Regions from separate parts of the Homo sapiens genome. Here all the other regions are linked to region 1. Evidence: promoter capture Hi-C in 16 types of primary human blood cells and fetal thymus (Javierre and others, 2016). All regions are on one chromosome and are shown on one strand. Each heading gives the region's core, a stretch centred on a gene start or on the middle of the fragment in contact. The rest is flanking DNA. Distances are from core to core; before and after follow the strand shown.

Region 1 (3,772 bases), core at 712-3,211:
GGAATTACAGGCATGAGCCACCATGCCCGGCCACAATATTTTACAATTTAATGTCAAATTTGAATGTGGGCTGGGCGCAGGGGCTCACGCCTGTCATCCCAGCACTTTGGGAGGCCGAAGAGAGCAGATGACTTGAGGTCAGGAGTTCAAGACCAGCCTGGCCAACTTGGTGAAACCTTGTCTTTACTAAAAATACAAAAATTAGCCGGGCATGGTGGCACACGCCTGTAGTCGCAGCTACTCAAGAGGCTGAGGCAGGAGAATTGCTTGAACCCAGGAGGCAGAGGTTGCAGTGAGCTGAGATCGCGCCACTGCACTCTAGCCTGGGTGACAGAGAGAGACTCCATCTCAACAACAACAACAACAAATAATTAAATGTTCCTAATTGTAGGTTTGTTATGTTCTGCTATCCTGTCTTTTTCTTTTTCCAATGAACAATTTATGAATATTGACACATTTTTAATGATGTGGAAATTTTCAGAATTGTAAATGTTTATGTATTTAAAACTGGTTGGAAAAGTACTGTCTCAAAAATGTTAATAAAGCTAGCAGTCTAGCTTTATTAATATTCATTTATTCAATAGCTCTGACCTTTCTTATCCTTGGTTTACCCAGCTCTGAAATGGTTGCAAAGATTACTAAAAATATATGTAAGTTACTTTCATAAATTAGAAACTAAGAAGTAAAAATTACTTTCAAAAATCTGCCATTGGCCAGGTGCGGTGGCTCAAGCCTGTAATCCCAGCACTTTCGGAGGTCGAGGAGTGCTGATCATGAGGTCAAGACATCGAGACCATCCTGGCCAACATGGAGAAACCCTGTCTCTACTAAAATACAAAAAATTGGCTGGGAGTCGTGGCATGCACCTGTAGTCCCAGCTACTCAGGAGGTTGAGGCAGGGAGAATTGCTTGAACCCGGGAGGCGGAGGTTGCAGTGAGCTGAGATGGCACCACTGCACTCCAGCCTGGTGGCAGAGTGAGACTGGGTCTCAAAAAAAAAAAAAAAAAGTCTGCAATCATAATTACTTACAGTTTAATCTGGAATTTAGTACTCTATTCTATTTTCAAAGCTGCTATAGGGTATGCTGTCCTTTGTAGTTCCACTTTTAGCAGAATTGAACGTTTTTCTAACGGGTACAGATCTTTATGCTTGAGACTGTGTGGAAACCTTGGACTTGAGCTCCACTCTCAGTTATTTTTTGTATTTGCTAAAACTTAAATACATTCTGTCCACCTCTAGCATGATACCTGGTATGTGATAGGAACCCAATAAAAGTTTGGCTTTGATGGGAGTGTATGTTTCTACATTATTTTTGGAGGGTAATTAGGTAGTATCTTTCCAAATTTTAAGTTTGTATGTGTTTCATTCCAGACATTCTACTTCTAGGAATTTAGATATAGTTGTATATATGTATAAGGATGTTCACATTGCAGCATTGTCTGTAACAAGATTTGAAAAGAACCTGAAAACAACTAAAGGTCCATTAATATTGAACTGGCTAAATACGTTATGGTACTTTTAATTATGTTACTCATAAGCAAGTAAATTGCCTATAGCCATTAAAAATAGAATCTATGTATGCATAAATTGACTGGGATAATCAGTGTTTAAGGTATACTGTAGAATATGTACAGTTACTCCTTTTGTATAAAAATAGAGGATATACATATATGTGAAAGTAAATATGTATACAAAATATGCAAAATGTGAATGTAAGCGCTGGTAAATATCTAGAAGAACACACAAGGAACCGGGGCGTGGGGCGGATCGGGCAGAGGGACTTCCCTGTGCCTCACTGTTTGAATTCTGAAGGGTGCATACACGCCCTTATTGACCTGTGCTACTGGCCTCTGGCTAAAGAGGGCGCTGTAGCCACCAAAGTCCTGTTTACAGATCAGGAGTCTCAGTAAGCCAGCGTGGCTACGCCATCACGACCGGCGGTGGCACATGCGCAATAGCGAGACGCTGGAGCGCGGCGTAGGTGGCTGCCGAGTCTTTTCCTGTTTAGGGTCTTATCCTGGCATTGAGGGCGCCGGACTGGCGCTTTTGGCCGACTTGGCATTGGGTGGGCGGCTTCTTGGGACCCACATGAGCCAGTGGCATCATCCCCGCAGTGGCTGGGGCCGGAGACGCGACTTTTCAGGACGCTCCTCAGCCAAGAAGAAGGGCGGAAACCACATCCCCGAAAGGTAGTATGTCTTGGTCCCTTGGCGTGGCCTTTCCAGCTCGTGGCTTCTGGGTCTGGGCTTCATCGTTTGTGGTCTCTGCCTCTCGCCGTTGCCATCGCAAGCTTGACTTGTCCGCCGCTTGCTTTGAGGCTTTGACCCTCTGCGCCACCCGCTGTAGCTGAAAGGGGCGATGTCTGTGATGTCCTGTGATTTCTCCATATTCTTGTAAAAGGGAGGTTCTGGCCATTGCTCTTAGGTAAAATACGGAAGGATTGCTTTAAGGTGGGACTGTTACTGTTGGGGACACTCCTTAATTCCCAAAATGGAACCTCCTCAATTCCTTGTTACGTTGGCACGGAAAGTGTAATGGTTTGAGTTAGGAACCCAGCAGTAGTAGCGCCCTGAGATCTCACATGGAAAGTTGGTTTGTATTGTTTCCAGAAATCACAAAGAGCATACTTTGTTACTTCCTAACAGGCCTCATTTGAAAGATAACTCCTTTATACGTACAAATGATTAATTTTGAGACTTTGCACGTAGGTGCATTGAACTGTTTTTACTCCTTGAGACCATCCTCCACCATCTCATACCTCAATAAATCCTCTTCATTTTATCTACTATCTTTTGACTGTCACTTTCTGTCAGTACCCTAATACAGGTCTTGCCTGACTTATTGCAGTGGGGTTCTAATTAGTGAATCTCCTGTTTGTTTTCTTCCAATCCGTTTTTTTGTTTTTGTTTTTGGGATGGATTTTTGCTCTTCTCCGCCAGGCTGGAGTGCAATGGTCCAATCTCGGCTCACTGCAACCTCCGCCTCCCGGATTCAAGCGATTCTCCTCCCTCAGCCGCCCAAGTTGCTGGGATTACAGGCGCCCGCCACCACACCCGGCTAATTTTTTTTGTATTTTTAGTAGAGATGGGGTTTCACCATGTGGGTCAGGCTGGTCTCGAACTCCTGACCTCAGGTGATCCACCTGCCTCAGCCTCCCAAATTGCCGGGATTAACAGACGTGAGCCACCGCGCCCGGCCAGTTCCTAGCATTATTAAGTGAAGTTCACAGTCCCTCTTCTAGCAGGTTTTCTCTTAAAATATGAACTTGAAGTTTCCTACTAATTGAACTTTATGGCATCAGTCGTATGAAAACTAAAAGCGTGAAGTGAAATAATTGAATTTAAATTATTTCAGTGAATATGTTTGTATTAATGGCACTTTAGTATCTGGTACTGGGCCAAGTTTAACAGGGATACAGAAGTTCTGGGTATCTCCGGTTTTATATAGGCCTTATTTGAGTTGTACTGTTGTGTTGGCTTGTGTTCGTTTTTATGATGGGGAAACAGGAGAGAAGGACGGTATAGGTCGTTACTTGGTGGGGTTTAATAAGTGGAGTGGCGAAATGCAAAGCAGAGAGGAGAGAGGACATGTTGTGCGGGCTATGATTCCCATTTTCAAAAAGTCTTATTTTGTGCAAGGAAACAAGGCTAACATACAATTTGGCTAACAAAAAATATATCTAATAGGTGGAAAGACTATCTCCCAGTTGGACAGCGGATGCCTGGGACTCGTTTCATTGCTTTCAAAGTTCCTTTGCAAAAGGTAAGCAAA
Region 2 (3,772 bases), core at 931-3,430, 470 kb before region 1:
AAGTGGTAACCAGAAGCTTGTACTCCTGAATTTTACAGCTCCTGCACCAAGCACTGCACCTTCATTCATTAACTTATCCAGCCAGCACATTTGAGCACCTACTGTGTACCAGGCACTACATAGGATGCTAAAGATTATGAGAATCAGGGAATAGTCATTGTCCTTTAGGAGAACCAATCAAGTGTGAGGGACAGATTGATAATTGTAAAACTAACCATGTGCTAGCTGCCCAGGGGGTCAAGGAGGGCTTCACAGATGAGGGGGCTTTAAAGCTAAGGAGGAGCAGGAGGAAGGTAGACCCAGCACCAGGCTGTGAGGCAAGCATTCCAAACAAAGGAAATGGATCAGGCTCAGAGAAGCTGGATGGAGGTGGTTTGATATAGGCTCAGTGTAAGAGCTTCAAGGGCAGGAGGTAATACTGGAGAGGTGAGCCAGAGACTACACAGAGCCTGTAAGCAGAGCTGAGTCACACTCTGTCCCCAGAGTGATGGGGAGCCTAGAGGACTTTAACTCTTTTTCCGTTTGTGCCAAGAATACTCACTGGCGGTGCTTGCGGCTGCAGGCTTTACCCTGAGATAACTTTTCCCCACGAAATGTCTCACTTTTATTATTATTTTTGCATTGCTCTTATATGTTGACTTTGGAAACAAAAGACATCATTCTACTTAAAGCATTCTGTTTTTAGTTGTGGCATTTCCATTTACAAAATACACTAACTCTCAATCATTGAAAATATCAAATCCTAGAAAACTAGCATTCCTACGAGTGATGCTAACATCATTCTCGAACAGTTTTTGGCCTAAGATTCATTTGATGAATCCAGTGTTTCCAAAATAGATGATTCTGATCATTCCAATGATTCCAATGTTAGTTCTTTTTAGAAATAATTCTAAGAATAATTTTTATATTGCATTTTCACATTGAAAATCAGTCAGATTTGCTTCGGCCTCAAAGAGTGTGTTTATGTAAAATTAAATGAGTGCTGGCAGTGAGCTGCACTTTTTTTTTTTGCCTAAATGGGAAAGGGTTAAATGTGAGCATAGTCCCATCGAATCTGTAAGTCAGAAAGCACACTCTGGAGACAGTGTGAAGAACACGGCCTGAGCCTCCAAGGGCGAAGGGCTGGAAGTAAAAAATGGTTATGAAATATCTGAGCTCCTTGGACTGGGCTCTACAAAGGTTTTCTAATATGTATGATGTGTGGAAAACTGAAAACAGAAAGGTTAAGTAACTTAACCGAAGTCCTACAAGCAAGAATATGGAGACCTGGCCTTCAGATCCAAGAGAGGCTGTCTTCCCCCAGTGCCTGCTGTGTCCCATTGTGCCATATTTTACCAATGTACTATAGTCTCATTCCAAAAACTGAGAGTGAGTTGGCAGTGGGAGATGTGGTTCAAAGGGATTCCTTTAAAAACTAGATGTGATATGCTCCCAGGCATTTCAGAAACAGACCCGATCTTTCTTTTCTCCCTCCTCTCTCCTCGCCAGCTCTTCAGTGACGTGGCCTACAAAGCCCGCAATCGGGAAGATCTGATCGCAGGAATTGATGAATTTCTGGATGAGGTCATCGTCCTTCCTCCTGGAGAATGGGACCCAAATATCCGGATTGAGCCCCCCAAGAAGGTGCCCTCTGCTGACAAGAGGTGTGTATGAGAATGGGCAGTAGGGAGAGAAAAAGGAGGCTTCAACTCTGTCGGTATCATTTTATTTCTCTTTAAAATACATCTGAGGCTCAGCATAGTGGCTCATGCCTGTAATCTCAACACTTTGGGATGCTGAGGCAGGTGGATCACTTGAGCCCAGGAGTTTGAAACCAGCCTGGGCAACATAGTGAGATCTTGTCTCTACAAAACAAAAATCAAATTAACTGGGCATGGTGGCATGCACCTATAGTCCCTGCTACTCTGGAGGCTGAGGCAGGAGGATTGATTGAGCCCAGGAGGTCAAGGCTGCAGTGAGCTGTGATCATGCCACTGTACTCCAGCCTGGGCAACAGAGTTTGACCCTGTCTCAAAATAATGTTTAAAATAAGTTTAAAAATAATAAGATATATCAGAAACAAATATGGCTAAATGTGAACATTTGTAAAATCTAGGTGACCTGCGTGTGGATATTGTTAGACAATTTTCTGCATTTTTGTCTGTCTTTTAAGATATTTCATAATTTTGGTTGGAGAGGTGAGGGGTGCTCTGGGGGACCCACTCTCCTTCATCCCCCTTCTCTTCCAGGAAATCTGTGTTCTCCCTAGCAGAGCTGGGCCAGATGAATGGCTCTGTGGGAGGAGGCGGCGGAGCTCCTGGAGGAGGCAATGGAGGTGGTGGTGGTGGTGGCAGTGGCGGCGGGGCTGGCAGTGGCGGGGCCGGCGGAACAAGCAGCGGGGATGATGGAGAGATGCCAGCCATGCATGAAATCGGGGAGGAACTTATCTGGACAGGAAGGTGCCCACCCCAGGCCTCCCAGTGACCCTGCTGTCCTTTAGACTTCTCCCTTCTCAGCTGCCCTCTAGGGACTTTTCCCAACCATGGTCTGTAGTGCCCACTCGAGGTCACCCCTGCCTTCTTTCCCTCCCAGAGCCCTTGAACCCCATCATGGATCCCCAAAAGGTTGCCTCAGGAGAGGGGAATTTGAGACCCATACAAGAGGAGAGGAACCCAAACTTTTCTCTTAGATATCCTTTGGTGCCTGTTTCCTGGGTCTGCTGTAACAAAGTACCACAAACTAGGTGGCTTAAAACCACAGAAGGTTACTCTCCTGCAGTTCTGGAGGCCAGGAGTTCCACAGCAGGTGTTGGCAGGACCACCGTGCTCCCTGAGGCTCCAGGTGGAATCCTTCCTGGCCTCCTCCTGGCTTCTGGTGGTGGCCAGCAGTCCTTGGTGTTCCTGGCTGGCAGCCGCATCACCCCCGGCTCTGCCTCTCCACCACATGGCCTCCTGTGTGTCTGTCTTCACAGAGCACTTTCCTCTTTGTGTATGGACCCCAGTCATGTTGGAATAGGGCCCACCATAATGACTTAATCTAAACTGGATTACATTTGCATAGGTGTTACATAGATGTTAGGACCTTAATATATCTTTTGGGGGGACACAACTCAATAACAGTACCTTTTTTAAAACTTAATTTACCTATTCAAAAACTTTTTTTTTTTTTAAAGAAAATAAGAGAAAGTTCTCCTGGCCTGGGTTTCTTTTCCAGCTCTTGGAGTCATTCAGGTTGATCTAGATTTAGGAAAGGATGTGGCCTTGAAAATCTACATATAAATCATGACTTTGAGAATGAAGTCATGTTTTATATGCCCTTGGCTTTATACCAGTGGTTCTCACTGTAAGCAGCTTTGGCCCTCCTTAGTCCCCCTACCCCCGAGCCCAGGGAATTTGGCAATGTCCAGAGACATTTTTGCTTGTCACAACCGGAGAGGGGAGATGCTACTCGCATCTAGTAGGTAGCTGCTAAACATCCTGCAGTGCATGGGACAGCCCCTGCAGCAAAGGAGTATCCAGTCCAAAATATCAGCAGAACTGAGGTTGAGAAACTCTGCTCCATGCTAAGGACTGCATTAGGGGCTATGGGAATAGCAATCCCAGTAAACAGTGTCTCCAAACCTAAAATCTTCCACTCAGCTGTTCCAGATAGCAAAATCAAAAAACAAACAAATACCAACCAGTTATAAGGTTTAGGATCTGTTCTTAATGAATCTGTTATAATCTGGGATGCTTCTGTCACCGAAAGTTAGACACTCCTGTGTTCACCAAGAGCAGGCACCCTGCAGATGGTC
Region 3 (3,772 bases), core at 621-3,120, 440 kb before region 1:
CCGGGCTGCCCATGAAAATCAACCCAGATCAACAAATCAGAATCTCTAGGGAAACCCAGACTTTGGTATTTTTATGAGGTCCACAGGTGAGCATAGACCTGCAGCCAGGGTTGAGAACCCCCACTGCAGGGAAAGGGAGATAGATCCTCCCCCCAGTGCCCTCAGGGGCCTCAGAGCTGGCGAAGGGAAAGGCAGTAGTAGTCATGATTAGCATTTACTGAGTACTGTTCCACTGAGTCCACACCAGCCCCCAAAGCACTAATAACCCCGCTTTACAGATGAGAAAATGAGGCTCAGAGAGCATGAGCAGAGTGACCCTGGACACACAGCCAGATAGGGCAGGGCAAGACCCACACCCTCCACCTATTGATTTTTTTGTTTAATTTGCATACAGTAAAATTCAATGTGTGGGTCTATGAGTTTTGGCAAATGTACAGAGTGGTTAGAGACATAAATTCTCAGGCATTACCTGACCTGCTAAATCAGAAACTGGGGGAATCCAGTGATTTGTGTATTAATTAACAAGCCCTCCAGGTCCTGGTGCATGCTCAAGTTTGAGAGCCACTAATTTATGTATTTATTTTATTTGTTTGAGATGGAGTCTTGCTCTGTCGCCCAGGATGGAATGCAGTGGCACAATCTTGGCTCACTGCAACCTCCGCCTCCCGGTTTCTAGCGATTCTTCTGCCTCAGTCTCCTGAGCAGCTGGGACTACAGGCACCCACCACCATGCCTGGCTAACTTTTGTACTTTTAGTAGGGACAGGGTTTCACCATGTTGGCCAGGCTGGTCTTAAACTCCTGACCTCAGGCGATCTGCCCACCTCGGCCTCCCAAAGTGCTGGGATTACAGGTGTGAGCCACCACGCCTGGCTGAGAACCACTAATTTAAAGAATAACTGTAGTTCTCCAGCCCATGGCCTTTCTGAGGCTCCCCACTTCGGCTGTCACAGGCTCCGTCCCTCTTGGTCACTGGTAGGCATGGTCACTCACCTGAGGGGCCAGACAAGAGGAACTACGGTGGAGGGAAAGTGAATAATGGCTTATGGGAGCTTCGAGACGGCTCCAAAGACACCACAAAAAGTCCCTGAACTCAGCCGACTGAGGGAGAAAAAAATCTATGCCTGAGTTTGGGCATTGAGACCACAGTTTTCTCCAAATTCTCACAAAACTTTAGTCTCTCTCCACCACAGATCCTGGGCCTCATCATCGTTCGAAGGCTTCTGGATTTCATCTTTTCCCAGCACGACCTGGCCTGGATTGACAACATCCTCCCAGAGAAGGAAAAAAAGGAGACAGACAAGAAGAGGAAGAGAAAAAAAGGGGCCCACGAGGACTGTGATGAGGAGGTGGGGAAGATGTGAGGCCGGGGCACAGAGGAGAAATTGAGAGACCTTCTCTCCACTTTTGCCAGGGACAGGGAGAGGGCGGCTTCTTGGGTGGCCTGCAGCAGTGCCTCGGCCCAGTCCAGGATGGGCTGGGGCATCTGCTTGTCTTGGTCTGGGGTGTTGAGGGCTCTTCTGTTTATGTGAATATCCTCAGGGTGGGCCAGAGTGAATGAGACTCCCTGTCCAGGGAAAAGGTGACTGGCCATGCCCACTCTTTCCATCACTGTGGGCTTTACGGCCGTGATCACAGCAAGCGGGTTCCTGTGGGAAGGGCCAGGAGGCAGCTCCAGCATGGAAGGAGGTTATGAAGACTGACCTCCAAAGAGTGGAGCAGACTTGGGGAGAGGTGTCTAATGGGGCCTTATAAGTAGACTGGACTCCAGACAGGCAGGAGGGGCTGGGAACAAGTTTTGCTTGCGCCTTTGCCTAGGGTATTGAGGACAAAGATGGGGAAAGAGGCAGGTATCCTCGCCAAAAGGAGACTGGCTACATTTCCCAGATGTCTGGGACAACATGGTTGCCCCATCTGCCCCTCTTCTCCCATGGTCCCTTCCCATTTCATCCCCAAAACACTCAGGGAGTCAACAGACAAGGGGCCAGTCCAGAAATTATAGTGAATCACAAAACATGAGGCAGAAAGATTCTTAATTCATGTGTTCATTACTTATGATGAAACTGTCCCCACAAAAGGAAGTGACTTACCCAAAATGGACATGTAGCTACATTTCTAAGAAGGAATTAAGAAAATAATTCCTGACTTTGCTGGTTTCTGATATGCTAAGCTGCCTGTGCCATCTCCTAATGCTGTGCTTGGTTCCCAATCTCCCAATTTGACCCAAACTCACGTCCCTGCATCCACCCTGTCCTGTTCTCGTGATTTTGCCTTGTGCAGATGAAACCTGTTCAAGGCAAATCCCTTCTGACTGGCTGGTGGTGATTAAACCATCTTCTGATCAGTCAGAACTCCCCTGGTCCTTAATTACTGTGCTCTTCCAGGAAGAGTCCCATAATGCATGTGTTTGTAGATGATTTGTAAAGGTGGGTTCTGAAAACAAAGAAACAGAGACTAAGTGCCTTTTAAAGACAAATACTTCTTTTGTTGATACTTTCAATAAATATCTGAGTGGCTACCACATGCCAAGAACTATTACAGGGTTGGGAAAAAGAATCTCTGAATTATGATATATCAATGGAAAAACAGGATTCAATTTATACAAATTCATTTTACTTGTCTTATAGCAACACAGTTGTTGTGTGAGGTTCATTCCCAAGTGACTGGTTGCTGTGACAGATAAAACTGTTTTGATGAGTAACATTCCTGGAAGAGTTCCGGTCTGTCTGATGGTGTGTATAGGACAGCAGGCTAACTGTGCCCATTCCCCTTCAGTGGACCCCAGGGTATTTGCAGCATCCCCTAACTGTTTAGAGGTGAACAGAATGGTGGTTTGCAATGTTCATGCATGCATTTTCCATCTTGGCAAGAAAGCCAAGTTGTTGGCCACGCGCGGTGGCTCACATCTGTAATCCCAGCACTTTGGGAGGCCGAGGCAGGGGGGATCACAAGGTCAGGAGTTCAAGACCAGCCTGGCCAGCATGGTGAAACCCCATCTCTACTAAAAATACAAAAAATTAGCCAGGTATGGGGGTGCACGCCTGTAATCCCAGCTACTTGGGAGGCTGAGGCAGGAGAATCACTTGAACCCAGGAGGCAGAGGTTACAGTGAGCCGAGATCGCACCACTGCACTCCAGCCTGGGCAGTAGAGCGAGACTCTGTCTCAAAAAAAAAAAAAAAGAAAGCCAAATTGTTGTGTTGGTGTTTATCCTCTTTTCCCACTGTTTTTCTCCAGCCCCAGTTCCCTCCTCCCTCGGTTATAAAGATTCCCATGGAAAGTGTCCAATCAGATCCCCAAAACGGTATCCACTGCATTGCCAGTAAGTAAAACACATGATGTCTCTCCCTTCTTACTACTAGTCCTCCATGTCTTTCCCCTAGGAACTTTCATCTGTAACTCAGGGGGATCTAATCATTTTGGATGCTAGAGCAGCAGTCCCCAACTTTTTTGTCATAAGGGACAAGTTTTGTGCAAGATAGTTTTTCCACGGACCAGTAGGGAGTGGGGAATGGTTTTGGGATGAGACTGTTCCACCTCAGATTCTCTTAAGGAATACGCAACCTAGATCCTGCATATGGACAGTTCACAATAGGGTTCTCACCCTTATGAGAATCTATTGCTGCCACTGATCCCACCGGAGCTGGAGCACAGGGGTTAATGCTTGCTCGCCCATGCTCACCTCCTGCTGTGCGGCCTGGTTCTGCTACTGTTCCATGGCCTGGGAGCTGAGGACCCCTGCGCTAGAAGACCTTTGTCCTTGGCAGAGATCAA
Region 4 (3,772 bases), core at 597-3,096, 420 kb before region 1:
TTTTGTTGAGGACATAGGAGTGACTTGCAGGATTCTCGCCAACCAGGATCACACTCAGGTGTGGCCGTTTGTTGCCTGAGGCCACCCACTCTTCTACCTCCTGCCGCACTTCCTGCTTGATCTGCTGGGCCAGTTTCCTTCCAGAAATGACAACAGCTTCATTTCTGCAGAAGGCAACAGAGTCACAAAACCAAATAACTTGAATTTTTATAAAAACTAAAACTCTGCCAGGTGTAGTGGCTTATGCCTGTAATCCCAGCACTTCGGGAGGCCGGGGCAGGAGGATGGCTTGAGCCCAGGAGTTTGAGACTGGCCTGGGCAACATGGCAAAACCCTGTCTCTGCTAAATAAATAAATAAATGAATGAATATATCCAGCTACATATGGAGGGGGATAAAGTTGATAGAAATCATTATTATCATTAATTTGAAGCTCAGGGAGTTTAAGTGACTGACAGCGCTTGGTCAAGCTGAGTCTCACATCAGTCTGGGCTCTTAACTGCTACACCACCCTGCGCCCTGATCATTACTAAGTGTTTTACAGTTTTAATTTGCAATTGTTTGACCCCTCACCATGAGGTTAAATAGTTTTTCTTATCTGCTTATATGCCATTTGTAGTTCGTGTTTTGTCCCTGTTGTTAGCAGCCAGGCATGTATTTCAAATCATTTCCCAGTCAACTGACTTCATTTTTATGGTGGTTTAAATCGATAAATTATATTCTGTAGTTGAATAAACAAACAATATAGGCCGGGCACGATGGCTCACGTTTGTAATCCCAGCACTTTGGGAGGCCGAGGAGGGCAGATCACAAGGTAAGGAGTTCGAGACCAGCCTGGCCAACACATGAAACCCTGTCTCTACTAAAAATACAAAAATTAGCTGGGCGTAGTGGTGGGCTCCTGTAATCCCAGCTACTCAGGTGGCTGAGGCAGGAGAATCACTTGAAACCAGGAGGCAGAGGTTGCGGTGAGCTGAGATTGTGCCACTGCACTCCAGCCTCGGTGACAGAGCTAGACTCCGTCTCAAAAATAAACAAACAAACAAACAACATACTGGACAGGTCAAACATCAAAATGACCACCACTCCCCACAGTCCCTTCTGGGGAAGACTTTCCTGGTAAGAATAGGGGCAGGGCAGGGGACTGGAGGAAGCTCCTTCTCACAGTTGGCAATGTGCTCTTCCCAGGGACCCCACCATATCATCCAAAGCTGACAGACCAGGAGTGAGTATGTGACGCCAAGGGCAACAATCTCTAGGCTGGCCAGTGGTCCAGTTGGCGCAAAAGCTTAGCTCAACAGAGCAGTGAGAGTTAGTTGAACCAGTAAGAGCTCGTCCCTGAGGCAGTTCAAACTAGAACCACAGAACAAAGACAGAAAGAATAGGCAGAATAATAGTCACACCAATGGGAGACAACAGGGCAAGAAATCAGAAAACTGTTGCTGAGGTGGGGAGCAAGAAGAAAAATCAGGATCTAGAAGAACCTCCAGTTCCCAAAACCATGTTCAGCTGCCCGAAAGGCTGTCTCTTCCCAAAGAGAACTGCTTATGCAACTCTTCCTGGGTTCCATGAAACCCAAATGTGGAAGAGTCCCAGTTTTCCTATTTTCACACATGTCCTTACAGTAAAGTGCCCATTACTTAAAGATGAGCATCTGGCCCAGCGTGGTAGCTCAAGCCTGTAATCCCAGCACTTTAGGAGGCCGAGGAGGGTGGATTGCTTGAGGTCAGGAGTTCCAGACCAGCCTGGTCAACATGGCAAAACCCCGTCTCTGCTAAAAATACAAAAATTAGCCAGGCATGGTGGTGCGCGCCTATAATCCCAGCTACTCAGGAGGCTGAGGCAGGAGAATTGCTTGAACCCAGGAGGCAGAGGTTACAGTGAGCTGATATCACCCCACTGCACTCTAGCCTGGGCGACAGAGAAAGACTGCATCTCAAAAAACTAAACTAAACTAAACTAACTAAACTAAACTAAACTAAACTAAACTAAACTAAACTAAACTAAACTAAACTAAACTAAACTAGATGAGCATCTCTTCCTTAAGTAAAATGATCCCATTAAAAAAAGCCTTTCCCTTTAGATCTCTGTCCTTGGTGTCATGAAGACTGCTCTAACCTCAAGACCAATGAAGTAATCTCCTCTTATATTCTAAAACCTAACATCAAGGTACTGAATATCCTGTAGGGTCAGATAAAATTAATTCTCAAGATAACTGCTAATTTATTTATTTATTTTTTTTGAGACAGAGTCTTGCTCTGTTGCCCAGGCTGGAGCAATCTCAGCTCACTGCAGCCTCCCAAGTTCATGCAATTCTCCAGCTTTTGCCTCCATAGCTGAGAATACAGGCACCCACCACTGCACCCGGCCAGTAACTGCTAATTTAAATGGGATTTTAAAGCTTTCACAATCTTTAGGCCTTCAATAAGTGTTTTTTATTGCATTATGATTAAATACCAACTTTAAACCAAATCTCAACATCTTAGATATAATGCAATAATCTTATATATAAACTTTATCTTAATCTGTATTGCATCTTGTGAAGTATTAAATTATTATAATCTGGCCAGGCACGGTGGCTCATGCCTGTAATCCTAGCATTTTGGGAGGCCAAGGTGGGCAGATCACTTGAGGTCAGGGGTTTGAGACCAGCCTGGCCAACATGGCAAAACCCCGCCTCTACTAAAAATACAAAAATTTGCCAGGCATGGTGGCAGGACCCTGTAATTGTAATCTCAGCTACTCGGGAGCTGAGGTAGGAGAATATCTCGAACCCAGGAGGCATAGGTTGCAGTGAGCCAAGATCACGCCACTGCACTCCAGACTGTGTAACAGGGCAAGACTCCATCTCAAAAAAAGAAAAAAGTTACAATCTTACAGCAAATCAAATACTTTTACCCTGATTTTATATAATACTAGCATGGCACAACATATAATAGCATTTAATTATACCCATGGTATATGAAGAAATTGAAAACATATTAATATTCACAATTCCATTTCAGAATTAGAGTCGAAGAGGACTTCATTAAAAGGGTTTTGCAGGCCGGGCATGGTGGCTCACATCTGTAATCCCAACACTTCGGGAAGCCAAGGTAGGCAGATCATGAGGTCAGGAGATTGAGACCATCCTGGCTCATATGGTGAAACCCCGTCTCTACTAAAAATACAAAAAATTAGCCGGGCATGGTGGCACGCACCTGTAGACCCAGCTACTTGGGAGGCTGAGGCAGGAGAATCGATTGAACCCGGGAGGCAGAGGTTGCAGTGAGCAGAGACTGCCGTGAGCGGAGATCGTGCCACTGCACTCCAGCCTGGGCAACAGAGTCAGACTCCATCTCAAAAAAAAAAAATTAAAATAGGGGGGTTTTGCTGATACAAATACACCTGGCAACATTCCTCATTCCTGATTTGTATTAGTACCTGGAATGCCCACCGCAGGCCAAAAATACATTCCTAATCCTGGAACACTACAGAGTGAAAGACTACTTTAAAACGGCTTAGAACAGTCATTTATGTTGAATGAAATAACAAACATATATAATGTGCCAGGCATATATGTTCAATAAAACTAATTTCTTACTCTTTTCTCTTGGTTTTATATATATATGTATATATACACACACATACACATGTATCCTTAAAATAGATACACTTACACATAAGGAGATATATATAAGTATATACACTATATGTATATCTAGTCAGTGAGAATGACTTAGCTTGCACCTCATAAAAAGTTTCTTTTGAAAGCAGTAAACTTAGAGAAAATG
Region 5 (3,772 bases), core at 511-3,010, 390 kb before region 1:
ATTGCTATTTTTATTTTGAGACAGTGTCTCTGTCACCCAGGCTGGAGTGCAGTAGCACCATCACAGCTCACGGCAACCTCAGCCTCCTGGGCTCAAGCAGTCCTCTCGCCTCAGCCTCCTACATAGCTGGGACTGTAGGTGTGCACCACCACGCCTGGCTAATTTTTTAAAAATTTTTGTAGAGATGGAATCTCACTCTGTTGCCTAGGCTGGTCTTGAATTCCTGGGCTCAACCAGTCCTTCTACCTCAGCTTCCCAAAGTGCTGGGATTACAGGCATGAGCCACCATGCCTGGCCATATCTTATATTATTCATCTCTTTTAATTTTGTCCTTTCTGTTAGCTAGAGACTCCAGGGCAGGGGACTTTATCTGAAGTATTTTGTCCTCAGTATGCTGTAGACCTCAAAAACAAATGTTTATGATTAATTAGATCTTTTAAATGCCTCTGGATACAGCTGGTGCACCTTCTCCCTCACAGTATATTCCACAACATGTTTTGTCTCTTTCCTAACACAAATGGTATTATCTGGTCCAAAGTGGTAAACTATGGATTTTTCATTCCCTTGGATGTAATCATATTGTATATCCAAAGGATATAATAGTCATCGTTAAGTTAGAATTATCTCCAGTATCTTATTTTCCTGCTGTTACATGCGAGTGGATCATGAGGTCAGGAGTTCAAGACCAGCCTGGCCAACATGGTGAAACCCTGTCTCTACTAAAAATACCAAAACAAAATTAGCTGGGCGTGGTGGCATGCACCTGTAATCCGAACTACTTGGGAGGCTGAGGCAGGAGAATTGCTTGAACCCGGGAAGCGGAGGTTGCAGTGAGCCAAGATTGCACCAGCCTGGGCAACAGAACAAGACTGTTTCAGAGAAAAAAAAAAGTGTAGTATACTACAAGTTACAGTATCATTGGATTATTGAATGTCTCAAGGGTTCAGCTAAGAACCTAAATGTATTGTCTGTTTTTCCTTCAACTGGAGGTCTCATATTTTGTGTTTACACAGACATTTTGACACAATTCTATTATCTCTGCAGCTGTGGATTTCTTTAACCAGATCAACATGTTATATGGAACTATTACAGAATTCTGCACTGAAGCAAGCTGTCCAGTCATGTCTGCAGGTCCGAGGTACATATACTGCCTATTATATAGGTGTTTGGATTAGTTTTACTTTATCACCAATTGATAGAAATTAAACAGTTAAGATTTGTTATCCGTTTGTGTGAAGGTGATTCAGTTTTATTGGTTCTTGACTACTCACCTGTAAGCTTTTAGTTATTGTGTAATTTTAAAATTTTATTTATTTTGAGACAGAGTCTCGCTCTGTTGCCAGGCTGGATTGCAGTGTGTGATCCTGGCTCACTAACAACCTCTGCCTTCCGGGTTCAAGCGGTTCTCATGCCTCAGCCTCCCGAGTGGCTGGGATTACAGGCCTGTGCCACCACTCCCAGCTAATTTGTGCATTTTTAGTAGAAATGGGGTTTTGCCATGTTCCCCAGGGCTGGTCTCAAACTCCTGGCCTCAAGTGATCTGCCCACCTCGGCCTCGCAAAGTGCTGGGATTAAAGGTGTGAGCCACTGCACCTGGCCAGCTATTAGTTATTATTAAATACTTTAGTATGTGGGTACTCCCTGTTTTCATTTTTATGTTGCATCATAGTAAGTCTGAATGTTTTATTATAGGAATAAACAGAAATTTGAGTTACATTTGTCTTGAATTGCAAACATTTTATTTTTTCAATTTTATTAATAACATTTATGTTTCCTGTTTCTAGTTTTTAAATGAATTTCTTGGAAGAGTTTTTAGTTGATCTTTTAATATTTGATTATTTTTTCTTGTGCTTATTTAGTATTTAAAGCAGCACAATTTAGAAGTAATTATCTGGCTTGAAGATGCTAGATTTAAAAACATTTTGACTTTAATAAATTTCAAGAAATACTGAAAAAGATGGAACTCTATCACTCATAATATTAAGTCCATCATATGATGGGATTAATGTTTGCTGTGTTTCCTTCCAGTTTCTTTTTTTTTTCTTATAATAAATGACTGATTTTATGTGATGATAGATGTTATCAAGATGTTTGCTTCTTAGAAAAGATTGTCCTTTCTGACTTTGCTACAAGTGTAAAGGAAAAAAGATCCCTAATGAGTTTGTAGTTCTATTTTTATTATAATATTTTAGGAAGAATGTTTTTATTTTATATTGTGTTAAGTTTTATTATTCAAGCTTTAAAAGAAATGAAAATAAACAGGAAAATTAAACTTACCTATGGCTCAAATGCTTTACACAGTGATGTTTTGTATAACTCTTGTTAATCCTTCTAGCTCGGCAAAGGTAAGGGGGGAAAGTATGCATGCCTAATGTATATCTCTAACACCTGGCCCCCAAAACAGAGTTTTATAATCTTGGGTCCATTGATGATAATAAATTGATGACCAAGAATCTCAGAAGAATGTAGTGGATCCATCGGCTCCATGCCCAGCCCTCAGCAACCTTCTGCTTTACAGGAATGCAGTTCCTTTGTGTTTCCCAGGGCTGTGTTGTTAATAAAACATCTATCCTGGCATTGCCTCCTGCCACATTATCTCCCTTTTTTCTTCCAGTTATAACTGTCACTTTCTGGATAATTACATAGGGAACTCACAGTAATCTTCAGTAGAACTTAAGGTGATTTATTAAAGTTAGATGTAACTTCTATTGACAAAATGTGAATGAACCTGTTTTAATCACAACTTGCACATTTGTTAATATTTTTGAAAAATTTATCAGTAAAACATTTTTCTCTTCAGATATGAATATCACTGGGCAGATGGTACTAATATTAAAAAGCCAATCAAATGTTCTGCACCAAAATACATTGACTATTTGATGACTTGGGTTCAAGATCAGCTTGATGATGAAACTCTTTTTCCTTCTAAGATTGGTGAGTTAACATTGTCGAAGTATTCTTTCTTTTTTTAAAATTTTATTTTATTAATATAAATAGAGTTGGGGGGGTTTGCTGTGTTGTCCAGGTTGGTCTCAAACTCCTGGCCTCAAGTGATCCTCCTGCCTTGGCCTCCCACAGTGCTGGGATTACAGGTTTGAGCCACCGTATCCAGCCTGTTTCTCTTTTTGAATGATAAATCTGCTCTTTTTAACATTGTTATACTTGTAGAGACTGCCAAATTCTCCTCCAAAAAGTTTGTACCAACATGTACTCCCCCCAGCCCTGTTTGTGTTTGCCAGTGTTTCTTCACCAACACTGGTTATTACTCATTTTTTAATATTTTCTAATTTGGTTAAATTTCTGTTTTAATATGCATTTAAAAAATGTTGATGAGATTGAGCATTTTAGCCTTTTTGTTTGTTTTATTGATCATTGTGTGTTTTCTGTTTATATCTTTCATCTATTTCTGTGTAAAGGATATTAGCGCTTTGTCGTATGTGTTGTATATCTTTTTCCCCGGGTTACCTTTTGTCTCATTTTGTTCATGGAGTATTTTTGCTGTACACAACCTTACTATTTTGTCCTATTATATCTTTTATGACTTGATTTTAATATAACAATTAGAAAGCTTTTCCCTGCTTCAAGATTATAAAAATATTTATTCATGTTTTCTTTTTTTATTTTTTTATTTTTTGAGACAGAGTCTCACTCTGTTGCCCAGGCTGGAGTGCAGCGGCACAATCTTGGCTCACTGCAATCTCCACCTCCCAGGTTCAAGCAGTTCTCATGCCTCAGTCCCTGGGTAGCTGGGACTACAGGCACATGCCACCAT
Region 6 (3,772 bases), core at 597-3,096, 350 kb before region 1:
TTTGCACAACTTTAAAGAAAAAAAAAAAACCTCACAGAATAATGTGTTTTTCAAGGCAGGCATTTTAAAAGCTAATCCCAACTTGCCCCGTTTTAGGCTTTTACAGTGTTTAACTTGCTTTCTTGGGTAGTTAGTCTGGAAATGAGTTCATCATCTGATATAGGATGGCTGGATTTTAATATTTTCTGTCTCCAATTCGTTTGGTTAAATGCCTAAAGCTGGTAGTCTACTAGTGCTGAAGGAAGAGGGGAAGCATTTATGGCTCATTAGAACCAATCCCCATGGTTTCCAGGTCAGCTGATTTTCTCACTACAATACTTAACAGCAAGATGAGAGGCTTTATTAACATCATGTCAATAAAGCCATTAATAATTCAGAAGAAATTTTAATTACAAACTTAAAAGAATTACATAGTTGTAAATTAGTCTGTCACTAAGTAAAGACTACTACATTTCACTTTGGGAGACCTTGTAAAATGTAAGCTAACTCATTGCTGGAACCTTGAAACAGAGGTCATCCGGATCAACAAGCATGAGTCCGTCCCTTCTGCCAGCTTCTGATCCCCTCATTTGAGTTTATGAGATGAGCCAATAATGAATGTAGAGGCAAGCAGCTCATTTTTCTACCTAAAACTAAGTCTCAGCCTGACACTTTTCTTCTGACCCAGTTACAGCTGCTTCTCTGGTGTGTGCTTCAATCCTCTTCACTGGGCACCATTAAACACTGGACTTGGTAGCTGTCTATGCATGTGACCAATTTCACTATCCATCTTCTGGCTTCAGTGCCAATTTTAAGAATGCTAATTCCTACGTGGCCAGATTTCTATAAAGATGGCAAATTATTTTATTCTGGCTAAAATTAATCATATTATTAATATTTTCTAAAGTTAGCGTTTACATTTACTGCTTTAAAAAAATTCCAGGCTGGGTGTGGTGGCTCACGCCTGTAATCCCAGCACTTTGGGAGGCCGAGGCAGGTGGATCATGAGGTCAGGAGATTGAGACCATGCTGGCTAACACGATGAAACCCCGTCTCTACTGAAAAAATACAAAAAATTAGCCGGGAGTGGTGGCGGGTGCCTGTAGTCCCAGCTACGTGGGACACTGAGGCAGGAGAATGGTGTGAACCCGGGAGGCGGAGCTTGCAGTGAGCAGAGATGCACCACTGCACTCCAGCCTGGGTGACAGAGCAAGACTCCATCTCAAAAAAAAAAAAAAAAAAAATCCAGCAAATATAAAATTTAGGCCTAAAAGATGCCAATGATTTAAAACTCTACACAGATCTAAGATCAATGCCTATGTATGAGTGTAGCTACTGCCACGAGGCATTCTACTCATAGCCAGCCTAGGAAAGTGTGAGCTGAATACAGGTCCTATGCCAAAAAACCTCTGCCTGAAACAGAACTACAGACGTGAGAAGCATTAATAGATGTGCACTGTATTTATATAAGCTTCTCTTTTCAGCATTAAAACAGCTGATCTACTGTGTCAATCTGGTAGAGATCAGTTGGTGCCATATATAAAAACCAACAGGTTAACTGACCAAATTTCTCCAGATTTCAATTGGCTCTATGGGATCAAATAGACATGATAGGTTAATTATGATGAAAACAATAATCTTAACCATGTTTAAGAAAAAATACAAAATTTTAGTGCAAGTACTTATTTACTTCTGTACTCAAAAAGGGTGAGAATCCCAGCTACTCAGAGGCTGAGGTGGTTGGATCACCTGAGCCACAAGTTCAAGACCAGCCTGGACAATATAGCAAGACCCTTGCCTCAAAGAAAATTGAGATTTTAAATTTTGTTTGTGATTTTCTCTAAGTGAATAATGGTAAAATTTAACAAACTAGCATAGTTCAATTTACTGAGCTACAAAGTATAACATTCAGCTGGGCATGGTGGCTCATGCCTGTAATCCCAACACTTTAGGGGGCTGAGGCAAGAGGATTGCTTGAGGCTAGGGGTTTGAGACCAGCCTGGGCAACACAGTGAGACCTCATCTCTATAAAGTTAAAAAAAAAAAAAATTTTAGCATACTTTAATTTATGGCAGGTACTATATATGAGAGCTGAAGTCTTCTGTACCTCCACAATGCCACACTTCTTATTCACAAAGGATGGTTAGAAGCTAGAATACAACTTTTTTGTTATTTATAAATGCTGCCAAAAGAAGAAATGTTTATGGAATTTCAAATGACACAGTTGTAAATTGGCAGTTAGCAGCTTTCCATGTAAAGCTTCATCTCAGCATGAAAAACTTGATTATAGTCAAAACTAGCCAAGGAAAACTCAAGTGTATGATGCCTAAAAGTCTACTGTGTGGCTGTCTGAAAACGTGTATTGTACCATGGTGTTATCCATCCAGCCAGGCTTTTGAAGCTATCTGTAAGAGTCATGTTGTAGGGAGAAACAGCGCCACAATTAAAAAATAATCCAAGTGAGGCCAGGTGCAGTGGCTCACGCCTGTAATCCCAGCACTTTGGGAGGCCGAGGCAGGCAGATCACCTGAGGTCAGGAGTTCGAGAACAGCCTGGCCAACATGGTGAAACCCTGTCTCTGCAGGTGGCAGGCACCTGTAATCCCAGCTACTCAGGAGGCTGAGGGAGGAGAATCACTTGAACCCAGGAGGCAGAGGATGCAGTGAGCTGAGATTGCACCATTGCACCCCAGCCTGGGTGACAGAGTGAGACTCCATCTCAAAAAAAAAAAGAAAAAAAATTCCGAGTAGTATTAAATATACATGTTAGCACCTTTTTTTTTTTTTTAGTTTTTAACCTTTTTCTTTTTTTTTTTTAGTATTTATTGATCATTCTTGGGTGTTTCTCGGAGAGGGGGATTTGGCAGGGTCATAGGACAATAGTGGAGGGAAGGTCAGCAGATAAACATGTGAACAAGGGTCTCTGGTTTTCCTAGACAGAGGACCCTGCGGCCTTCCGCAGTGTTTGTGTCCCTGGGTACTTGAGATTAGGGAGTGGTGATGACTCTTAACGAGCATGCTGCCTTCAAGCATCTATTTAACAAAGCACATCTTGCACCGCCCTTAATCCATTTAACCCTGAGTGGACACAGCACATGTTTCAGAGAGCACGGGGTTGGGGGTAAGGTTATAGATTAACAGCATCCCAAGGCAGAAGAATTTTTCTTAGTACAGAACAAAATGGAGTCTCCCATGTCTACTTTCTACACCTACACAGTAACAATCTGATCTCTTTTCCCCACATTTCCCCCTTTTCTATTCAACAAAACCGCCATCGTCATCGTGGCCAGTTCTCAATGAGCTGTTGGGTACACCTCCCAGACGGGGTGGCGGCTGGGCAGAGGCGCCCCCCACCTCCCAGACGGGGCAGTGGCCGGGCAGAGGCGACCCTCACCTCCCGGACGGGGCGGCTGGCCGGGCAGGGGCTGACCCCCCACCTCCCTCCCAGACGGGGTGGCTGGCTGGGCGGGGGCTGACCCCCCACCTCCCTCCCGGACGGGGCGGCTGGCTGGGCGGGGGCTGACCCCCCCACCTCCCTCCCGGATGGGGTGGCTGGCCGGGCGGGGGCTGCCCCCCACCTCCCTCCCAGATGGGGCGGCTGGCGGGGCGGGGGCTGCCCCCCACCTCCTGGACCGGGCAGCTGCTGGGCGGAGGGGCTCCTCACTTCGCAGATGGGGCGGCTGCCGGGCGGAGGGGCTCCTCACTTCCCAGACGGGGTGGCTGCCGGGCGGAGGGGCTCCTCACTTCTCAGACGGGGCGGCCGGGCAGAGACGCTCCTCACCTCCCAGATGGGG
Region 7 (3,772 bases), core at 798-3,297, 310 kb before region 1:
GATCCAGATCACCTCATGGTGCTCTTGCTCTCGCCCACCTTCCAGGGCCCCCTGGGCTCCTTCGTCTCTCTAACACTGTGGGCATGCCCTTTCTGTGTATTTCACCTAGAAATCCTCACAACAGAGTGCCAGCAGGAGCTGCCCCTTCTTGCTTCTCAGTCTTGGATGCAGTGATAGAAAACAAGTGGAGAAATGAAATCCCGAGGTGGGTCCATCAATCCCCAGGGGGCATAAGCTACACTCGGAATCTGGGAGCCCTCTTTCCAGGCAGATGTGCTGGTGCCCTTGTCTCGTCCTCAGCCCCTGGAAGCCCTGTCTGCCCAGAACCTGGCTAAAAGGCAGAGCAGACAGCCAGCATCATCCCTTCAAGGAAGCCCCTAACCAAGTCCAAACTCCCTCTCTTCTCCATCTGCACTCACTCCCCTGCTGATGGCGTCGGCCTCACAGCTCTAACTATAAACCACGTGCTCTCCAGACCCTCCTTGCCCCCTGCCTACTCCACATCTCCACCTGCACGTCTAGCAGGCATCTTGAAACAGGACTCTTGATTTCTTACTCCTAAATTCAGCCTTCCCCTGTTACTTACATCTCGGTCCATGTTACCAACACTCACCCAGATGCTGAAGCAAAAAGCCTTGGAGTGCTCCTCAAGTCCTGCTCACATAACAATCCAGCCCATCTGCAAATCCTCTTGGCAGTCCCTTCCACATCATCCAAAATCTGTCCCATCAGCACCTCCCCCCACTCCTGCCCAAGCCGTGTCCCCTCTGGCCTGGATGGCTGCCCCAGCCTCCTCCTTCGCCTCCTTCCTCTTATTCCCTCCCGTTCACCTCACTCTGCCCCCACCATCACACACCTCATTCTCTAACTGCAGCAGCAGGAGTGCGTCTAACTTTACAATGCAAACTTACTGCTGCCCAGCTGAGAAGCCCTCAACAGCTTCCCATCACACTTAGAGCAAACCCCGCAACCCTCCCCTGGCCCTCAAGGCTCCCTGTGAGCTGGTCCCTGCAGGCCTCTCCAATCCCACTCTCCCTGCCCCTTGCAGTAAGTTACTCCCTTCCTGTTGTTCCCTGAACACACACCCAGCCTGCTCCCCGCTCGGAGCCTGCACACACGCTGGTCCCTCTGCCTGGAGCACTCTACCCCCAGATAGTGGCTCTCTCACTCTCTTGCGCCATTCACATCTCAACTTAAACGTCCCCTCCTCAGAGCAGCCTCTCATCTAAAACAGCATCTCCTGTTGCTTTATCCCTCACCCTACTTCATTTTTCCCTCTTGGCCTTCATTGCTACAGGACATTCCCACACATACTTGGGCAGGAACTTTGTCCGTTTCATCCCGCAGCATGCAGAGCAGTGCCTGGGCACAGCTGGTACTCAATACACATTTGTCCAAAGAATGAATCAAGGGTTTGTTTGCATTTAAATCCAAGTGTCCACAGAGACCGGGGCCCACGCTTTAGATAACTGGGCACTCCAGGTGCTTGAGGGGCTACATCCTGCAGCATCCCCCTAAGACACAGACACAAAGCCAGCCTTGTCTGTTCAAGGGTTTTCTGGTGAGGTTTTCTCTGGGAGGTGGGCGAAGGCAGGCCGTCTTGCAGGGAACCTTCCAGAGTTCTGAGGATCCTGTCTCCAGGTCCCTCCCTACCCTCAGCCTGCCTTTCTGAAAAGACCACGGTGGACTCCCTCCCACAGTTGCCCCACAGGTGGGGCTATGACAGGGCACAGGCTTACCACGGTGCACCCATTGTAGAGGTTATGCTGGTCCTTGTGGGCGTGGGCACAGAAGTCCATGCAGGCCGTGACCCCCGCGAAGGGCCGTCCTTCCTTCAGCCCCAGACGGCAGTCAATCGCTATTTCCTCGTTGGTCACCTGTGTAGACAGCCAAGGAGAGGTGCTCACATGACCTGAGGTGAGTGGCCCCGATTCTGCACCTGGGGAGGCCAGGTCTTGGAAGGAGGGATGTTAAGGATGATAGTCACCTTGCCCTTCGACTGCAGGAGGGAGGTTTTCTGGCTGAGAGGCCCCAGCTACAAAAAAGTTACTTTCAGTCTCCTGTAGGAATTACTTCCTTCTGGGTTATCCCAAGTCCCCTTGCCTTGTCTAGGAGATACAAGGGTGACAGGTGAGAGAAACTCGGGCCTCACCAGTGGATACCAGACCAGAGGAGGTGGATGGGTTACCAGGGGAAGGGAGAAGACCAGGATAGAAGAGGGACGGTGTGGGATGCAGGTAGCCTGGTGTAAAAAAGGGGTTTTTATCAAAGAACCACATCATATCGCTTTACTTCTGGACTAGGCTCTTCCCATAAGAGAGTAAAAGAGCCCACTCTCCCACTTCCCACCTTCAGAGCCTGAGCAGAGATGTGGACGGTGACATGTGGGCAGCAAAAGGCCCAGGGCCCGTTACCTGGTTCTGATAGGCCTGAGGGGCCAGTCGCTTGTACAGGGGAGCGACTTCGGTGGCCAGGTCCTGGAAACTCTTCCGGAGCACTTCTTCCTGCAGAGAGAGGGGCAGTCACACATCCAGAGCAGCCCCGCCTGGCAGACCCTGCACCCTGGAAGTGGACTGGCATTCCTGAAGCATCGTGGGGGAGGCTGGGAGGGAGGTGTTATCAGGTGTCTTTCTGGCCTTTCCTTCAGGAGGGCTGTGGTGCTGTGTCCACTTCACAGCTGGGGACACTGAGGCTCCCAGGAAAAGCTGTGGAAGCCACGGCCTGAAGGTCTAGTCATCCTGACTGCTAAACTACTGCTCCTTCAGGCTCCCGCCCAGTTCAGCCCAGAACATATCAAACGTTTCTTGCTTTCGAGTGCTGAACACCGTAGGTCAGAGGTGCGGCACAGTGGGACTGAAAAAGCCAAGAGCAACAACTGTGGATCTTTCCTCCCAGGCTACAGACAGGAAGAGAAAGGCAGGCAGGATCCATGCTAGAAATTCCACAGCCAGCCCAGCCCAGCCCAGCCCAGCCCAGAGCCTGTCATAAGCCAGGAATACAGACAGACTTCAAAGCTCCAGCTGCTAGACTCGTACTACGTAATGTTATTCACAAACCACATGAAGCTACAGAAATACAGATGAATTCTAATTTTTTTTTTTCTTTGAGACAGAGGCTCACTCTGTCACCCAGGCTGGGGTGCAGTGGCATTATCTTGGCTCACTGCAACCTCCATCTCCTGGGTTCAAGCAATTCTCCTGCCTCAGCCTCCTGAGTAGCTGGGATTAGAGGTGCCCACAGCCGGCTAATTTCTTTTATATTTTTAGTAGAGATGGGGTTTTGCCGTGTTGGCCAGGCTGGTCTCAAACTCCTGACCTCAGGTGATCCAACCACCTTGGCCTCCCAAAGTGCTAGGATTACAGGCGTGAGCCACAATGCCCGGCCTGAATTCTAATAAAAATTAAAGCAATTCAGTCCCTTGGTTGCACTAGTCCCATTTTAAATACTCAGCAGCTACACGTGGCTCCTGTATGGACAGCAGAGAATGTTTCCACACATCACAGAAAGTACTGTGGGACAGCACTGCTCTATGTGAAGCAGCAGCCCCTGGTGACATGTGGCAGAGAGTTCCAGGTATCCACAGCCTCTGTCTGGCCCTCCGAAAACAAGCAGGGCTTGAAGGGCTCCTAGGACACCACGAGCACAGGCACAAAGGGTTTATGAAGAAGAAAGCAGGAAGAGAGGAAAGAGAAAAAGAACCAAGCACACAGAATGAGAAATGGAAGGTGGAGACCCACAGCTCAGCTGTACATCCAGTGGGGTCGCCAGGGCT

Evidence for each region. Contacts are between HindIII fragments. The CHiCAGO score rates a contact against its expected background, and 5 or more counts as called.
Region 2: a fragment that was not itself captured here is called in contact with the fragment with the promoter of DUSP11 in region 1 in 1 of 17 cell types (activated CD4 T cells); the score reaches 5.1 in activated CD4 T cells.
Region 3: a contact is called between a fragment that was not itself captured here and the fragment with the promoter of DUSP11 in region 1, in 1 of 17 cell types (erythroblasts). The highest score is 8.7, in erythroblasts.
Region 4: a contact is called between a fragment that was not itself captured here and the fragment with the promoter of DUSP11 in region 1, in 4 of 17 cell types (fetal thymus, total CD8 T cells, neutrophils and 1 more). The highest score is 8.9, in fetal thymus.
Region 5: a fragment that was not itself captured here is called in contact with the fragment with the promoter of DUSP11 in region 1 in 3 of 17 cell types (fetal thymus, total CD8 T cells and erythroblasts); the score reaches 5.8 in fetal thymus.
Region 6: a contact is called between a fragment that was not itself captured here and the fragment with the promoter of DUSP11 in region 1, in 6 of 17 cell types (neutrophils, naive CD4 T cells, total CD8 T cells and 3 more). The highest score is 6.6, in neutrophils.
Region 7: a fragment that was not itself captured here is called in contact with the fragment with the promoter of DUSP11 in region 1 in 1 of 17 cell types (M0 macrophages); the score reaches 5.3 in M0 macrophages.

What each region holds. Positions count from the first base shown.
Region 1 is chr2:73,778,292-73,782,063 of GRCh38, reverse strand. It overlaps DUSP11 (dual specificity phosphatase 11), which reads left to right and starts at 1,961. Exons shown (of 9, transcript NM_003584.3): 1 at 1,961-2,190; 2 at 3,688-3,763. The coding sequence starts at 2,090. RefSeq lists enhancers at 1,990-2,059, 2,140-2,189, 2,320-2,469. The HindIII fragment of the contact is 6,659 bases long and covers 1-2,293 here.
Region 2 is chr2:74,250,845-74,254,616 of GRCh38, reverse strand. It overlaps SLC4A5 (solute carrier family 4 member 5), which reads left to right. Exons shown (of 31, transcript NM_133478.3): 15 at 1,489-1,643; 16 at 2,229-2,438. Among named protein-coding and RNA genes, the nearest start is that of MTHFD2, 54 kb to the right of the region's middle. The HindIII fragment of the contact is 4,323 bases long and covers 19-3,772 here.
Region 3 is chr2:74,222,416-74,226,187 of GRCh38, reverse strand. It overlaps SLC4A5 (solute carrier family 4 member 5), which reads left to right. Exons shown (of 31, transcript NM_133478.3): 28 at 1,193-1,348; 29 at 3,236-3,320. Among named protein-coding and RNA genes, the nearest start is that of MTHFD2, 26 kb to the right of the region's middle. The HindIII fragment of the contact is 4,313 bases long and covers 1-3,772 here.
Region 4 is chr2:74,202,097-74,205,868 of GRCh38, reverse strand. MTHFD2 (methylenetetrahydrofolate dehydrogenase (NADP+ dependent) 2, methenyltetrahydrofolate cyclohydrolase) reads right to left here. Exons shown (of 8, transcript NM_006636.4): 2 at 1-164. Among named protein-coding and RNA genes, the nearest start is that of MTHFD2, 5.4 kb to the right of the region's middle. The HindIII fragment of the contact is 1,113 bases long and covers 1,290-2,402 here.
Region 5 is chr2:74,164,380-74,168,151 of GRCh38, reverse strand. It overlaps MOB1A (MOB kinase activator 1A), which reads left to right. Exons shown (of 6, transcript NM_018221.5): 3 at 1,045-1,138; 4 at 2,801-2,934. Among named protein-coding and RNA genes, the nearest start is that of MOB1A, 13 kb to the left of the region's middle. The HindIII fragment of the contact is 959 bases long and covers 1,281-2,239 here.
Region 6 is chr2:74,123,952-74,127,723 of GRCh38, reverse strand. It overlaps a transcript of TET3 not described here. Among named protein-coding and RNA genes, the nearest start is that of BOLA3, 22 kb to the left of the region's middle. RefSeq lists an enhancer at 3,449-3,772. The HindIII fragment of the contact is 788 bases long and covers 1,453-2,240 here.
Region 7 is chr2:74,091,634-74,095,405 of GRCh38, reverse strand. TET3 (tet methylcytosine dioxygenase 3) reads right to left here. Exons shown (of 12, transcript NM_001287491.2): 9 at 2,415-2,504; 10 at 1,740-1,877. Among named protein-coding and RNA genes, the nearest start is that of BOLA3, 54 kb to the left of the region's middle. The HindIII fragment of the contact is 4,624 bases long and covers 1-3,772 here.